Linked DNA regions of Homo sapiens: region 1 is linked to region 2. The links are contacts of gene promoters, found by promoter capture Hi-C in blood cells and fetal thymus (Javierre and others, 2016). All regions are on one chromosome and are shown on one strand. The core of a region is centred on a gene start or on the middle of the fragment in contact, and the rest is flanking DNA. Distances in the headings are between cores, read along the strand shown. Region 1 overlaps TEP1 (telomerase associated protein 1). Region 2 holds the start of SUPT16H (SPT16 homolog, facilitates chromatin remodeling subunit).

Region 1 (5,675 bases), core at 1,609-4,108, 990 kb before region 2:
GTTGGGATTCCCAGATGACTTCCAACCTGTGCCAGGGTAGCCCCGATTGCCCACCCTTGGCTCCCAGACAGTGCATACATACCTGGCCTTGTGTACTCTCAGCTTCTCCCTCTTGAGCTGCTCATACAACACAGGTATCCTCATTGCCATCCGAAGCTGCTGACGGCTTAGGTGGCAAAGAAACCTCCGCCTGGGACGGTTCTTTTCATTTCTAGTTAGTATCCGCCTCATCAGTGTTATATTCGAAGGAAAGGGCAATGCTGTATGATGACAGGTAAATTTCCGAGTTAGGCAGCTTCTATTCCCTCATCTTTTCCTACCAGTAATGTGACCTGAGCCCCAACCCTTGGGGCTGGCAAGTGCCTGACCTCTGCCCCCCACCCCGATACACCCTGAGACTGCAAAGCAAGAGGCTAAAAATATTGGTGCTGCTGCTTCATTTATTGTCAGATGTGGGAGGCAAAGAGGAGTTGGAAGAAAGGGGAGAATACCTTGATTTCTGAGTTGAGCCTCGAGGGCATCAATGGCATCATGGGCGTTAAGAAATCTGAATGGAAACTGCCGACTGTGGATCACCGACTTCTAGAAAGCAAAGGAGGGAGGGGTCATGAGCACAGGAGCCGGGAGTATGGGGGGCTTCAGGGGTCCACTCTATTAGCTTTGTGGGAAGGTACAGAAGGACAAAATGAACTTAGACAAGAGATATAGAAAAGGGGTAATAAGAAGAAAGAAAAAAGTCATCATTTTAGGATGTGAGAAAAGGTAACAAAAGAAGAGAAAGTAACAGAAGGAGCCCCGTTTCTTTTAAGACTCCCTCTGGGCAGGGTGTGGTAGCTCACGCCTGTAATCCCAGCACTTTGGGAGCCTTAGGCAGGTGGACTGCCTGGGCTCAAGAGTTTGAGACCAGCCTTGCCAACATCGCAAAACCCCATCTCTATAAATAAAAAACAAAGACTCCTTCTGAAATCAGTTACATCACACAAGTGTCTCTTCCTGGTAAGTCACTGAGCTCAGAAAATTAAAATGAAAGTTCTTATACTCTACTGTAACTTCTCAAAGGATTTACTGAACCCCAAAACTTATCTCCCTCAACCTAGCTGTATTCCCAGATCTACTTACAGCCCACATGGAAACAGCTTGAGGGCCGTACCTGCCTCTGCCCCCTGAAAAAGCCTGGCCTCTAAAGCAGCAGTGGCCTCTCCACGTGCACATCTAGTTGCTGGGCCCCATGGCTACCAGCCCCTCACACATACCGCATGCTGGAGTCTCTGGAGAATGAGCTCATGGTGGCGGGAACTGATTCCAACCCGCAGCAGGTTGCACAGGTTCCGAAGCATGGCCATGAAGGGAAGCTTCCCATTTTCTGTGGAATGTGGGGCATAGAGTGAGAAAAACAAATGAGAAGGCCAGGCACAGTGGCATGCACCTATAATCTCAGCTACCAAGGAGGCTGAGACAGAAGGATCACTTGAGCCCAGAACCCAGGAATTAGAGTCCAGCCTGGGCAACATAGCAAGACTGTCTCAAAAAAAAAAAGCAAATGAGGGATGATTAGAGAGAGGTCAGAGACCAGAGCAAGAAGTTCAGAAACCAGGCATGTGGAAAGTCCAAGATAGAGGAAGTGAGGAATTCACATACAATCTACCCTACTCAAAATGTTTTAAAGGCTTGGAAAGATTAAAAACAGGGTTGGCCCAAAGTTTGGAACAAAATTTATGCAACACTGTTTATGGGATGGCTGTTATGTTACCACTTAATCTGTTGGCTCTAGCCCTAAGATTGGGTTCAACTGGCAAAATGTATTATCTAGTCTAGAGCAAAGGTTTCTAAACTTTTTAGATGGCCAAAAGAGAAATTTCGTAGTGTAAGTTGATTTATGAAGTATATACTAACATAATGTAGCACATTCATTAGTTAATATTTCAAGGCACAATATCCATTTAAAAGAAGGTTCACCATTTATGAAACCCCGTCTCTACAAAAATACAAAAATTAGCCAGGCGTGGTGTCTGGTGCCTCTAATCCCAGCCACTCGAAAGGCTGAGTCAGGAGAATCGCTTGAAACCAAAATGCGAAGGTTGCAGTGAACCGAGATCACGCCACTGCACTGCAGCCTGGGTGACAAAGCAAGACTCTGTCTCCAAAAAAAAAATTAAAAAAAAGTTCACCATTTATAATGACGAATGTATGTAAATCCATATTTGAAATAGTCTTCATAATTTGTAAGCTTCTCACCCAATTTCTTCTATTTGATTAGTCATTACTTTTTTTGCTTAAATATAGGTGAAAAAGATTTGCACTGGAGATAGAATTTCACCACTGACCTCTGTCACTTCCTTATTGTTCCCTTGTACCTGTGTTATTAATATTATCTTCAAGCCATAGTTTCTTTTCTTTTTTTTTTGAGACGGAGTCTCACTCTGTCACCCAGGCTAGAGTGTGGTGGTGCAATCTCAGCTCACTGCAACCTCTGATTCCTGGATTCAAGCAATTCTCCTGCCTCAGCCTCCGAGTAGCTGGGATTACAAGTGCTCACCACCATGCCTGGCTAATTTTTGTATTTTTAGTAGAGACGGGGTTTCACCATGTTGGCCAGGCTGGTCTCAAACTCCCGATCTACAGTGATCTGCCTGCCTCGGCCTCCCAAATTGCTGGGATTACAGGCGTGAGCCACCATGCCCAGCCCATAGTTTCTTAATAATAATATTTTTAAGGTTTATATCAATTTTAGGCCGGGTGCAGTGGCTCACGCCTGTAATCCCAGCACTTTGGAAGGCCGACTCAGGCGGATCATGAGGTCAGGAGATCAAGACCATCCTCGCTAACACGGTGAAACCCCATCTCTACTAAAAATACAAAAATTAGCCGGGCGTGGTGGTGGTCGCCTGTAATCTCAGCTAATCAGGAGGCTGAAGCAGGAGAATCACTTGAACCTGGGAGGCGGAGGTTGAAGTGAGCCGAGGTCGCGCCATTGCACTCCAGCCTGGGCATCAAAGTGAGACTCCGCCCAAAAAAAAAAAAAAAAGGTTTATATCAATTTTAGACAGTTAATTTGGTTAATACTGAATAATATAATTCCAAATCCATCTACAATTGAAAGATAAATTGCTATAAGTCAAATTATATAGAAACCAAAATTAAAAAAAAAAAAGAGTGAAGGGGTGACATTAATGCCCTCAGATTGTGGATGCTCAGAAAACCTCAACTATTACACGTAACACATAACACTGTATCATATGGATTCAGTGACTATGTGGGTTCAATCTGCATGGTAAGTACTGGGAAAATTCTTTTCTTTTAGATAAAAGTAAACATAAATAGGAGGTGTGATTTTCTTTTCCTGGACAGAGGTGCATTCAAACCACTTTAGAGGCCAGGCCGGTCAGTCCGTCACCATGCCTTGTGCACCAGCCCACACCATCAGCAGCTTCATCAGGTAAATGCTGCTCCCTTTGTAAAGGGGATGTAAGTCTTATTTGAATTATAGCTGGAAGCTTTCAGCCCTCTGGAAGTCTTGGGATTCTCCAGTCATCATTCTTTTTTTTTTTATTTTTGAGATGGAGTCTGTCTCTGTCACTCAGTGGCACAATCTTGGCTCGCTGCAACCTCCACTTTCCAGGCTCAAGCAATCCTCCTGCCTCAACCTCCCAAGCAGCTGGGACCACAGACATCAACCACCATGCCCAGCTAATTTTTCTATTTTTGGTTAGAGACGGGGTTTCACCATGTTGCTCAGGCTGGTCTCAAACTCCTGAGCTCAAGTGATTTGCCCGCCCCAGCCTCCCAAAGTGCTGGGATTACAGGCGTGAGCCATGGTGCCTGGCCTCCAGTCATAATTCTGATTCACAAACTGTATGGAACAATTAGGTTGTATATGTACTATAAATGAACTATTGCATCCATTGTCGACTCAAGTTTTTTCCACTGTTACTATGTATAAAAGGTTTTCTAGATCATTTTCGGTAAGAAATTAAGTCCAATATCATACTGGTGATATTAGAAAATAAACTGGACATTTATCCTTAAGATTGCAAAATTCACTAATTTCATTCCAAAAAAATGTTAATGAGTTATTAATGAGATCTGTGGTCTTCAAAAAGGGTTCTGTATATCCAATTACATTTTATCTTATATTTTATACTTATATCTTTTTTTATATTTCCTTTTATTTATTTATATTTATTTTTGGCTGGGCACAGTGGCTTACATCTGTAATCCCAGCAATTGGAGACCAGCCTTGGCAACAAAGTGAGGCCCTGTTTCTTAAAAAAAAAAAAAAAAAAAAAAAAAGTACATATACATATATTCTGGTGTATCCTAAAAATTGTTTTTGTAGTATATGATTAAAAAAAAGAAACACTAGCCACCACGGGATTAGACTATGGGCATTTGCCTCAACCAGGATAAATGACATTAAAAGAATAAATTTACATGTCCTTACATTTTCAGGGACAGTGGTTCTCAACCAGAGGGAGGAAGTGGAGATGGGTGCATATAGAATTATCTTCATATGGCTGGGCGTGGTGGCTCACACCTATAATCCCAGCACTTTGGGAGGCCGAGGCGAGTGGATTACTGGAGGTCAGGAGTTCAAGACCAGCCAATATGGTGAAACGCCGTCTCTACTAAAAATACAAAATTAGCTGGGCATGGTGGCATGCGCCTGTAATCCCAGCTACTCGGGAGACTGAGGCAGGAGGCAGAAGTTGCAGTGAGCCAAGATTGCGCCATTGCATTCCGGCCTGGGCAAAAAGAGCAAAACTCCGTCTCAAAAAAAAAAAAAAAAAAAAAAAAAGAATTATCTACATATACCGGCTTCTATCCAGGCCCCTTTATTCTACTCCACCCCAAGTGGTTTCAACCATCAGGGAAGAAGAGGCTGTCAACTGGGGGCAGGTGTGTGTGTGTATGTGTGTTTGTGTGTGGGTGCGTGTGTGTGTGTGTGCAGTGGCTCATGCCTATAATTCCAGCACTTTGGGAGGCCAAGGTAGGAGAAATGCTTGAGGCCATGAGTTTGAGACCAGCCTGGGCAACATTACAAAGACCTTGTCTCTAAAATTTAAAAAGAAAAGTAATAATTTTATAAAGTAAAAAACGAAAGAAAGAGCCTGCTATAGGTAAAAGTAGACCAAAAAAAAAAAAAAAAAAAAAAAAACAGAGAAAGAGAAAACTGAAGATAACTTGATCCTCCTCTATTTGACTTTTTTTTTTTCTGTATCAATGTGGGCAAATTACCTAAAACTTCCATGTCCTAAATACAATATGAGGTTCTGTACAGATTCCAATATGCCATGTGCCAGTCCTACCTTTTTTGGAATGAGTTACAGAGATATCGATATGAGTACAATGAGAGAGAAGGTACTTTTGTCATATGTTGATAAAAACTTGTACATCACCTAACTACATCTGGTATAATGATCTATGATGCCAACATTACTCAAAGCAGGTACCACTGTTTACTTTGGTGTAGTCAATGGCAGACCTTATAAATCAAATACAACAACCAGGCAAAGTAATAACTTCATCATTCCACAGAAATCTTCTAGTGAGGATCTAAAATGTGGAGGCATAAATGGGGAAGAGAAGGAGGGAATGTGATGGTCAAGGTCACTCTACCAATGAGTTCCTCCCAGACCGACGCTTTGTTCCCCCGTAGGCTCAGCTCCCGCTCCCAG
Region 2 (6,034 bases), core at 2,037-4,536:
GTCCACTCATATCAGAATGTCCCAACAGGTAGGTCTCAAATGATATACAGATATGCCTGGATATTGTACCACTCAGCCCTCAAGGCAGCTGGAACCCTGGGATGGTAGATAACCTCTTTTGTTTCTCCCAATGACCAGCACTAATCATATTACTTGGTTAAAAATAATCGTAATCATGAAAAGGCTGGCAATCCCTGAAGAAGGATCTAGTAGGCATAAGAGGACAAAGAAACATGCAGCCCATTTCCAGGAACCACCACTACCACCTGCGATATTCTAATAATACAGAGAAGGTGCTGCAAATCCTTTCTGCTCTTAGCAGCTCTCACTTAAAACATAAGAGGCAAGACTGGATCTAGACTCAAACCTCCAGGAGTCATAAAACAATAGTACGTTCTAAGGTCTCCTGTTGATTTTTGACTGACTCCATTTTCCCATCTCTAAAATGACACGATTTACTTAGATACAGGGCTTAATATTTTTGAAATTTCTATTCAGTTAAAAGTACATGGTAACTACAATTGTTTTTAGGACATAAGTTATGAAAATTATAATTAAAAAATATTTTATTTGCAATAGCCTCAAAATATGTACCTAACTGAAAATTAACTTGCAGATAGGTAAGGTTAATTCCTATTCTTATTTTTAAAAAAGGGAAGAAAAAGCTTAGTAGCCTATCAGTTCTCTACAACCCTGTGTACTTGTATTTGGACTGCTGGAACTACCAGGTTCAACCACTACAGCTTTTAAGGGCTTATAATCAAGAGTATTTAAAATTAAAAGTGGGTTTGGAGCCCAAATCATTTTTTAGTTAATTTTAGTCATAACAGTTTTTTTTTTTAAGATGGAAGCTGAAAGCAAAAGGCTTGGGATTTATTTTTTTTTTTTTTAATTTATTTTTTAAAGACGGGGTCTCATCCAGGCTGGAGTGCAGTGATGCGATTACAGCTCACTGCAGCCTCAAACTCCTGGGCTCAAGGGATCCTTCTGCCTCAGCATCACAAGTAGCTAGGACTATAGGCACACACCACCATGCCTGGTTAATTTATTTGCCTTTTTTTTTTTTTTGTAGAGACGGGGGTCTCATCATCTTGCCCAGGCTGGTCTTTAACTCCTGGCCTCATGTGCTGGGTACAGGCATGAGTCACGGTGCCCAGCCAGGTTTGGAATTTTTACCATTAACTTCAACTTATTCTATTTCAATCCCAGTTTTCTTATTAAAAAAAGGAAAAGGTGTAAAAGAGAAAAGTTATACAACACACCTATATATCCCACTATCTTTCTGCTATATCCAGGAGGATAAGCGACTAGATTTAACCCAGAAAACTACTATCTCTGATTAAGTGTATCAGAATGAAAGCACTGTAGGGTGAAAAGACTGCATACACAAAGAACTTCTACAGGTGGGTTCTGGACACATTAACACAAAAGCAGAAAGTCTTATTCAAGTAAGTTTTTCATAATAGCCACAGGTTTTGTTAACTGGTACATTTTTACATAGATTTGGCTCATAACTTTACACCATCAGTGTCTTATCAATATCTAACATTCTCCCAAGATGATGTCATTAAGGTAGTAAGAGGGCCAAGATAAACTTTAAAGATTTTTGAGATACAAAAAAAAATGGTGGGTGGGAAATAACTTTCATGGATTTAAAGACTATCAGTTTTATTAGGTTTGCCAACCTGTCTTCAGGCCACAGTTAATTTGTCATGTAGAGGAAGTGAGAGCTATAGATTAGTTTTCATGAATGGTATAGAGAGAATGAAATTATTTGATGAATCTGAATCACTGGGACTAGAAACAATTTTCATACCAAAGGTTCACAGTTTCAGGGTTTATGGGTACAAGAGAGGGCTTCGGATTTTTAGTACTTACTGATCATTAGAAAGTATCAAGGTTTTAAAATGTTTTTCTAACATCGATTATGTTTGAATAATATGACACTGAGAGAAGCTGCAAAAAATCATTTGGTAGAAATTAATCAAAAAATTAAAAAAAATAAAATGTTCAGTATTCATCTAGCATTTAGTTCTTATTTTTCCTTTTCATAAAATGCAAGAGAATCAATTTTATTTTCAATTATCTAATGTATTTAGCCCCAAAAGATGAAACATGCACAGACAGCTTTAATATGAATGGCAAGGAAACGACCAATTTTAATGGCTTGGTTTTAGTAGATGACCAGTTTGAAAGATAATTTACAATGCTGAAATGAGAGCTGATCATTTTTCTCAAAACGTTTTTCAGGTTAAAAAAAAATCTTTATTAGCTGTATCTTCCCTTGATGACAGGGTTCAGGGGCAAGACTTAAGCTAGCCAACTCAGACTGCATCACAGAATGCAACCAAATGTTTGCTCAATTAGTAAGTTAACATCATAAAAATAAGTTTTAACTGTGGACGTTTTTAGAGCAGCAAAACTGCCGAATCTTTAAAAAACTGGGAACTGCCACAGCTCTTTTAATGAACACGTGCCCCGGATACGCTACCAAGGAACTAATAAGGTTTTAGGCATCGTTTTGTTTTGTTTTGTTATTACTAATGCCTGCAGGCTTTCAGCGTTAGGTCCCTCTCTGTAACCCACAGCAGGGCCTAGAACATGAGGCGGTTGCGCGTGAGCAGTATTTCTTTTTTTAACTCCAGCAAAAGCCCCGCAAACGATAAACGCTAAAAGCCCGATTGACATCCTCCTTGCCCTTCCATCTCTCCTTTACGAAGACGGTTATAATCCTGGCGGGACCAGGGGTGGAATATTGTGGTTCTGGAGGGACAGAGCGAGTGCGTGAGAACACGGCAGGGGAGGGCAGCAAGACGTGACCACGGAGTAGGAGGGAAGGATGTTGCCTCTTCTAGGGCGGGAAGAGACTGCGAGAGGTGCTGCTATGCATGACCAAGGCTGGCACGCGGGGAAGATGGTGATGGCCGCAGGACAGGGTGAATGCGGGGGATTCCCTGTTAAGGGGCAGCGTTCGTGGCCGCCTCCGGTGAATGATTCGGGAGCAACGAAAAGGGTGAGGCACAGAACCCGGGAATTCCTGACCGAAAGAGAAAAAAGGGCGCCGAGAAACAGGGTTATTATGGGATGGCTAAGGGGGCTCCCTAGGAAAAATTACAGGATCTTCCTCACCCGCCAATTGCTGTACAGTCTCTTCACTCGCCGATAATAAGCGTCTTTGTCCAGAGTCACAGCCATAGCCCCGGACGCCGCTTCTCCTCGGGTTCCGAGAATCACGCGAGGTCCCGGCTCAGCCACCCGCTCTCGGCCCAGGAATCCCGCACTCTCCCAATGACCCGGAAGTATCGACCTCAAAGATGCCCTTTCCGCTTCCGGGTCCCAACAGCGTTAGGTTTTTTTTTTGTTTGTTTGTTTGTTTTGTTTTTTTCCAACCCTCTTTCGGATGGACGGGGGAAAGAGAGAAAGAAAAACGAGGGAAAATCAACAAAATGTGCGATGCAAAGAGTCGATTTTCGCGGGGTTTGTCAACTTCGCCACTGCCGCACGCGAATCGACGTCGTCACGTGACGGTCTGCCTCCGCCCTTATTAACTCTCAGCCCAGCGGCGGTTTCCAGGACCTCAGACTTTTTGCCGAGGCGGCAGTCCCTAGACGAAGCGAAGGAGGCGGCGCCTGCCCCGCCCACAAGAGCTGCCGCGCGCGGGTGTTATAGCTCCACCCCATCTGCAAAGGAAGGGGGAGCGGAAAGAGCGGGATCTAGCGTGGGATAAAAGTGGGACTACTACAGTGTAACTGGGCATGCGCCCCTCCTAGAAATGATGGGAATGCAAAAGCCCTTGACTGCTCCAGGACTCGAGGGATCCTCGGTGCCAGGATGCTGGGTCAAGCGCTCCGCCGGGACAGAGGACTCATACCAGGGAAATGGAGCCCAGCCTCGTGATAAACTACGACCCAAGCTGGGGGAGGAACCTAGTTTTCGAAAGGAAAATAATATGCGCAAGCTTTAACTGAGCAGTGGGATGGTGTAAGTCAGAGGAAACAGATGACTTGAGGGGCTCTACAAACTTTTAGTTCCTTCCCACAACCCCACCCCCTGAGCCCAAGTCGCGGCAGCATCCTTCCAGTCGGCCAGTCCCCTTGCTGCAGTTCATGAAAACTGGCACTATTCTATGGCTTCCCCCAAATAACCGTTACTTCAGTTAATTAGAAACAAAACATAAATGGTTCCTGATGACATTCTTGCTCCCTGTCTCTTCTAAAAACTTGGAGTTTGAATCCAGAAGTTTGCCTACCTACCATTTACCTTAAATAATTCCCTTGCCTTTAGCCAGCTGGACAGTCTACATTTGTATATACCCTTTAGAGGAGTACAGATGACTTGTCTGCTGTAAGGCAATTTAGTATAAACAGTATTGAACTTAAGGAAAGTGGTGCTGAAATTACCCACCATTAACAACTCAAAATCAATACACTGGGTTTGAGCAAACATAGAACAAAGGAAGAGTGGAAAAGGATTAACTTAAATTTATTAATGCCAAGGGGAAAGAAGGTAACAGTTCCTGACCCTCCAGCTGTATCCACAGTTCGGCCAGGAACAGGCTCTGCCAGAGGCTAGGGCCAGCGCTACATAGTCTGTGGTTAATGGAGGTGACTAGGGAGGGGTGAGCACACCAGCTGCTCTAGTCTCCTTTCCTTCCCCAGAAATGAGGAAGTGGTCATGTATTATTTTAGGAGTTCCCCTGCCCACCCAATCCTCTCATAATTGGGAGCAATCAGGTACATTTTTTTTTTTTTTTCCTTTTCACCTCCTGGAGTCCTGGACTTCCCCACATCTCCCCTGCCCCTCCCACGTTTCCATAGTCCAAGGGCCAGAGTAAATGAAAATACAGCAGCCGCCCAAGCAATGGGGCCCATGCTGGGGCTTCAGTCATCAGCATCTTCACTGGAGTCTGAGTTAGCTGGCATCATAGGATCATCAATGAGTGAGAAGTCCCTTTCTGAGCTATCATAGCCCTGAGATAAGTCATCATCATCTTCTTCATCCTCATCGTCATCCTCCTCAGGTTGCAGTGGTGGCAACCGCAAGGTAGTACCAGAGGCGGTAGTCACTGGTGAAGAGGGGTAGCCAGGGGCTCTCAAGCCTGGATGGTGATGGTGGTGATGGTGGGGGTGGGGGTGGTGGTGGTGGTGATGAAGCATGGTGCTGGAGTCTACATGAGGGGATGATGGTGCACCACCCATCACAAATGGCATAAAAGGCAAAGATGCAGAAGTGGCACTGCTGTGACCCAAAGATGACACAGACTGTAGGCCACTACTGCTGTGTTGGAACGTGTTATGCAGAGATAGAGACCCAGTGCTTCCACCCTGCATGAGGGCCATCATCTTAGAAAGGTCTGGTCGCATCCTACGGGCCCGCTTCTTGCTGCTCTCTGGTGCAATAGGCCCTGGCAAAACCCGGTTGAACACCGTTTCAGTGTGATGACCCTAGGAGGAGGGAATAGAAGATAATAAAAAGAAAGAAAGGGGAAAAAAGAAAAGAAACCAAAGCCAACAGAGTCCTAGCTTACAATGCTTTTTTACTGAATGTACCTTAGAAGAGGCAAAACAAGCACAGCGATACTAGGCTTGATTGGTGGTAATGGGAAGGAGGAAATGCTGGACTTAGCTGGTTGAAACATTCTGATACTAAAGTTAAGATCAATGATTTTGTACCGAAACTCATATTAACCAGTTTTTGCTTCTTTTCCCCATGACTATATTGTATCTTTACTTTAGTCAACCATTTCACAAATGCTTACCTTTGTTAAGAAGGGGTCTGGGTAAGACAATGAATTAGTAAATGCACATAAAAAAAATCACTTGTGACCGGGCGCGGTGGCTCACGCCTGTAATCCCAGCACTTTGGGAGGCCGAGGCGGGGGAATCACAAGGTCAGGAGATCGAGACCATCCTGGCTAACACGGTGAAACCCGGTCTCTACTAAAAATGCAAAAAATTAGCTGGGCAAGGTGGCGGGCGCCTGTAGTCCCACAGCTACTCGGGAGGCTGAGGCAGGAGAATGGTGTGAACCCGGG

Evidence for each region. Contacts are between HindIII fragments. The CHiCAGO score rates a contact against its expected background, and 5 or more counts as called.
Region 1: a contact is called between a fragment that was not itself captured here and the fragment with the promoter of SUPT16H in region 2, in 1 of 17 cell types (monocytes). The highest score is 5.5, in monocytes.

Annotation. Positions count from the first base shown.
Region 1 is chr14:20,395,368-20,401,042 of GRCh38, forward strand. TEP1 (telomerase associated protein 1) reads right to left here. Exons shown (of 55, transcript NM_007110.5): 9 at 5,617-5,675; 10 at 1,254-1,363; 11 at 492-582; 12 at 83-260. Among named protein-coding and RNA genes, the nearest start is that of TEP1, 15 kb to the right of the region's middle. RefSeq lists an enhancer at 5,262-5,675. The HindIII fragment of the contact is 1,267 bases long and covers 2,226-3,492 here.
Region 2 is chr14:21,380,733-21,386,766 of GRCh38, forward strand. SUPT16H (SPT16 homolog, facilitates chromatin remodeling subunit) reads right to left here and starts at 3,287. Exons shown (of 26, transcript NM_007192.4): 1 at 3,130-3,287. The coding sequence starts at 3,195. It overlaps CHD8 (chromodomain helicase DNA binding protein 8), which reads right to left. Exons shown (of 38, transcript NM_001170629.2): 38 at 4,467-5,444. The coding sequence ends at 4,881. LOC107984643 (a long non-coding RNA gene) reads left to right here and starts at 3,541. Exons shown (of 2, transcript XR_001750627.2): 1 at 3,541-3,981. The HindIII fragment of the contact is 3,293 bases long and covers 664-3,956 here.